2 separate regions of the Homo sapiens genome follow, and region 1 is linked to region 2. The links are contacts of gene promoters, found by promoter capture Hi-C in human tissues and cell types (Jung and others, 2019). All regions are on one chromosome and are shown on one strand. The core of a region is centred on a gene start or on the middle of the fragment in contact, and the rest is flanking DNA. Distances in the headings are between cores, read along the strand shown. Region 1 has its middle 69 kb from the start of RANBP3L. Region 2 holds the start of RANBP3L (RAN binding protein 3 like).

Evidence for each region. The method cuts DNA at HindIII sites, captures the fragments that hold promoters and counts their contacts. A contact is called where the count stands out against the background at its distance.
Region 1: a fragment that was not itself captured here is called in contact with the fragment with the promoter of RANBP3L in region 2 in 2 of the 25 tissues and cell types used here (dorsolateral prefrontal cortex and liver).

What each region holds. Positions count from the first base shown.
Region 1 is chr5:36,369,073-36,371,772 of GRCh38, reverse strand. No RefSeq gene overlaps it. Among named protein-coding and RNA genes, the nearest start is that of RANBP3L, 69 kb to the right of the region's middle. The HindIII fragment of the contact is 7,235 bases long and covers 1-2,700 here.
Region 2 is chr5:36,300,498-36,303,197 of GRCh38, reverse strand. It overlaps RANBP3L (RAN binding protein 3 like), which reads left to right and starts at 1,296. Exons shown (of 14, transcript NM_145000.5): 1 at 1,296-1,872. The coding sequence starts at 1,782. All of the region lies in intron 1 of LOC124900962 (a long non-coding RNA gene), which reads right to left. The HindIII fragment of the contact is 10,640 bases long and covers 1-2,700 here.

The sequences.
Region 1 (2,700 bases), core at 66-2,565, 69 kb before region 2:
TGGGTTTGACAGTCTAGATAGTGCCCCCATAAAATGCTAAAAGCTGAAATGTGAAGTGCTGCACATAATATTTAGCTTTTAACAGATGTACACCATTCTAAATACTACGGGAACATAGGGCATCAAGATAGTTTATGGGGAAATGATTTATGCGCAGACGTGAGTGGTCATTCACCCTACAGGGCAGCCACCTGGCCTGTCATCTGTGCAAGGGGCAGATCCTGGCATACCGATTATAATCCATTTAAACCGAGTTCATCTGGGGTTTTCATGTTCCCTTGATCATTCTGAAGATATATTGGCTGTCTTGCACTATTTTCGTTTCTAACATACAATGGAAGAGAAATAACTGAAAGAGCATATGTCACAATGTCAATAGTGCTTACATTTAGATGTTGAGATAGGAGTGTTTTTAGCATTTCCCTCTTACATGTGTCTATTTTTAAATTTATCTTTATTGACAATATATTATTTTTATAATTTTAGAATACTTAAAGTATTACTTCACTTGTTCTCTTTTGTGTTTATATATATTTCAATTGTGTAAAGCTGAGCTGTCCAGTAGTATCCACTAATAGCATGTGAGAACTTAAATGAATCAAGATGAAATTCGCTATAAGGAACTTAAACAAATTAACACGTGAAAAACAAATGACCCCATTAAAAAGAGGGCAAAGGACATCAAGAGATAATATTCAAAAGAAGACATACATGCTGCCAACAAGCAAATGAAAAAATGCTCAACATCTCTAATCATTAGAGAAATGCAAGTCAAAACCACAGTGAGATACCATCCCATCCTAGTCAGAATGACCGTTATTAAAAAGTCAAAAAATAACAGATGCTGGCAAGGTTGTGGAGAAAAGGGAACACCTATACACTGCTGGTGGGAATTTAAATTAGTTTATCCACTGTGGAAAGCAGTTTGGCAATTTCTCAAAGAACTTAAAGCAGAGGCTGGGCGTGGTGGCTCATGTTTGTAATCCCAGCACTTTGGGAGGCCGAGGCGGGCAGATCACGAGGTCAAGAGATTAAGACCATCCTGGCCAACATGGTGAAACACGGTCTCTATTAAAAATACAAAAATTAGCTGGGCATGGTGGCACGCACCTGTAGTCCCAGCTACTCGGGAAGCTGAAGCAGGAGAATCGCTTGAACCTGGGAGGCGGAGGTTGCAGTGAGCTGAGATTGTGCCACTGCAGTCCAGCCTGGTGACAGAGACTCTGTCTCAAAAAACAACAACAACAACAACAACAAAACAAAAAACAAAAAAAACAGAACTACCGTTTGACCCAGCAATCCCATTATTGGGTATATAACCTAAGGAATATAAATTGTGCTACCATAAAGACACATGCACATGTATCTTCATCGCAGCACTATTCATGACAGCAAAGAAATAGAATCAACATTAATACTCTTAACAGTAAACTGGATAAAGAAAATGTACATATACACCGCAGAATACTATGCAGCCATGAAAAAGAATGAGATACTATCCTTTGCAGGAACATGGCTAGAACAGGAGGTCATTTTCCTAAGTGAACTAACACAGGAAGAGAAAACCACACACCACATGTTTTCACTTATTAGGGGGAGTTAAACACTGAGTACATATGGACACAAAGAAGAGAACAAGAGACACCTGGGGCTACCTGAGGGTGGAGAGTGGGAGGAGGATGAGGATAAAAAAACTACTTGTCAGGTTCCATGCTCATTATCTGGGTGACAAAATCATCTGTACACCAAACTCCCATGACACACAATTTGCCTATATAACCAACCTGCACATCTACCCCTGAAACTAAAGTAAAAGTAAGCAAAAAATGAAATCCAATTAAAATGCAGTTCCTCAGTCACAGTAGCCATGTTTCAAGTGCTCAGTAGCACATAGAGCTAGTGGCTAGTATTTTGGACAGTGCAGAATAGAATATTTCTATTAGTACAGAAAATTCCACTGGAAAATTCTGGTGTAGAGTGTGTAGGTTTTAGCCATTTGAATATAAAGATAGAGACTTGCAGGTGGTGAAGAGTTATGTGCTGCAAACAAAGATTTGAAAAGAGCAACTGTCTGAGTTCTTTGTGATCCAAATGCAGTGGTATTGATTACTCATTGAAGGGAGACCTTGTTATGCTCACCAGTGTCCTTGGAAGGGTGCTTGATGAGGGAAATGTGTCCCTGAAATTTTATGGTTGCAGAGGCTGATAACTGAGTTTAGCCTCCTGAGACTTTTTACAAGGCAATCTGAAAAGCCTGGGCAAAATGCCCACCATGATGTGTCACTCCTAGGACCTAACTTGCTATAGGAAATTCCCATAGGCTTACCTGAAATCAGATTCCCTATTTCCTATTCCCATCAAAAGGCTTTTAGCGTCTATTCTTGGATGACTCCCTTTTGCTAAACTACAGGATAACCTAATGCTAAAGCAAATTTATTGGGCAACCAGCCCAGGAGGTCATGCTCAGTAACTTGTCCAGGCTTTTCTTTGAAAGACTTAGGGACTAAGTGACCTTTGACACAACAGAGCAAAATGTAAGCAGCTCTACTTGCTCTGTAATTATCAAAATTTGTTTGGTTTCAAGATGAATCCTCAAACCCACATTCTGGTGGCCTAAGGAACGCATCACATCTGCCTCAGCCTTTGTGAGAAAAGGGCACCTAAGTTATTAGCTGAGAAGTATAAGGATATAGGCATTCA
Region 2 (2,700 bases), core at 47-2,546:
GATAATATTGAAGCCAAGTGATGAGTATGCAGGGCTTATTGTGCTATTCTCTCCTATTCATGTATTTTTAAATTTTTTCATCATAAAACATTTTAAATGTATTTCTCAAAAGGGCTGGCTTACAGTTTTGTAGGTTATTTAACTTACCTGTATAATAATATGCTTATTAGTGAGGTACATAACTTGATAGAATAACAATAACTTTACATATTCAGGAAAAATCACCTTGTCTCTCCACCATGGCTTTTGTGGAAGATGAGATGAATAGCAGACATTTAAAGTAGAAACTATGACTCTCCAATAACAAGACTCTCTTTCAAAGTAGCACAACACTTCTGTCATCTGTTACACTGTGATTAGCCTAAAACTGCAGTAGATAGACTACTGAAACAATTAAAGCATTCAAGAATTATAAAAGATCAATCACCTACTTCATAAAAATTTTCATAAACCAGACTATACTTGGGGAATTGTTAATTGCCTCAAAGTAAAATGAGGGCAGCCACCCAGATCTGGTTAGGAGGTAAATTCATTACAGTGTCAAGTTTAACACCAATTTCCAAATGCACATAAGAAGCTGCAGAGTCCAGACTTCGAGGCTAAACAGCTCTGCCTTTCTCCTTAGTCCTGCCCACTACCTTCTTTCTGAATCTGCGAAGAGCTGTGACTCTTGAAGGGCAGGACCTACCAGCATTCATTATGACTTCAGTTATGGCAAGCTCTCAAGTTAAATTAATGGTGTTTGGGGTTTATGTTTCCAAACAGTAAGGAAATAGCCAACGAGTAAAACTGGAAATTACTTTCTCCTATGACCTAGAAGTAGCAATAAGAACTCTAAGTGGGAAACAGAAATAGGACTCTGGAAAGATAATGTTTTGTGTGTTTATTTTTCTTCCAGAACTCCAAATAGTTGCCTTGGCAGGAAGGCTGCCCTCTAACTGCTCCCTTCCGAAGACTAGGAGGTGTTTACAGAAATTGAAAGTTCCAGCAGTACATTTCCATGAGCTCATTACCAGTTCCATTTATACCTTTTAGATTTCACATGCACAAATGAATGTCCTTGCAGTATAAACTCCTGCTTTCAGCTTGCATTTTAATTACAAACAAAGTAGCAGAAATCAGGTACTCAGTTACTGTAACATAAGGGCAGGGCATCTTTAGAATCTGTGCTTTGTTCACTATTATTCAAAGCAGCTCCAATGCCCGTCTTGCCTGCCTCTTTATGCTAATCATCCTAGCCCACTTTGCTCCTCCTCCTTCCAGAGTCCCTTAAGAACTGTACACTTTCAGCTGTCACAGAGGGTAACTCAGATCAGGCTTAGAAATCACTTGACTTAACTCAGCAGCACTTTTTCTTTTCTTTGTGTCTGTATTATTTTAGCAGCCTTCTCTAAATACTGGAGGCATTGGATTTCATGTCGCCAAAAGGAATTTAAAAATGACAAAAGTGTAATCTGTTAGAAATAGTTAATTTGTAGAATTTTACTCTATAAGGAGGTTTAGTTTCAATTTGTTTTGAAATGAAGGAATTAAGTTGTGTTTTTAACCAAATGAATTGGCATCTTTATATTTAGGAGAAGTAACATTGGTGATTATTTATTTCAAGAATCATGACTGGAAAAAGCTTGGAAGTTTAGTAGAGGAGTATATGTTGTACATGCAAAGACAAGATCTGCATGAATCTATGTATTTCTGGGTGTCTGGTGAAGGCCACTTTAGGTGACTGGCCAGAGAAGGAGGTGCCCTAGTGATCCTTGAGTCACAGCCATACTGCTAGGACCATGACTACCATACCAAGAAAAGGCAGCAGCCACCTGCCTGGCAGTTTGCACACCTGTAAACTGAAGCTGCAGGAGGACCGGCGACAGCAAGGTGAGTCCGTCCAGCTCATGAGTTGCATATTCTGTGACCTTCTGTGCATTTGCATTCCAGGAAGAATGGTGGGCTGGTGAAGGACCCGGGGAAGCTCTGACATAATAGTGATGCATAAGGGTGGGTTAACTTGGATTCACTATTGATTTTTAGAGGACTATGGAAGACTGTCAAGAATGCATATTCCTTGGAGCTGTCATTCTGAAACTTACATGCTTAAACTTCTAGCCACTGTGTTTTTTAGAGTATGCTAGATTTTGTCTAATTCAAAACACCCATCTGAGCAAGGCTGAGTCAGCTACAAGGGGGATTTCAGCTGAGAGTAGCTTTAAGTTAGCCTGGAGCTTTCTCTACCATAGTACCACTGGTGGGACACTTTTTTCACTTTGTTTAAGCCTAAGTTTGTCTGGATCTCTGGCTCATTCATTGTGGGAAAAATAAATATATTCTTGACTCTTTCCTTTTTATGGTCCAGGGACATCTGGAGACAGTCAGGGAAAAGTGTCACATTTCACTTGCTGGGCACTCATTCAAACTAAACTATCTACCTCCCAGCCATTTTCACCATCAGTCTTTTTAAATTTTCAAATCCACTCTCCAGCCAGCTGAGTTAGTGTCAGATGGTTGACATGAATAGACAAGATGATCCCTCCAATCCACCCTGTCAGGGACAGCAAATGACACTTGTGGGAAAGGCTGGGTCTCTCATGGATGACATCATCACTCCACAGAGGTTAAGGATTCACCAGACACTTCTAACTTCTCCTCAATAACCTAGGATAGATCTTTTTATGTGTAGGTCTAGGCAATGAGCTCTTTAATTATTTT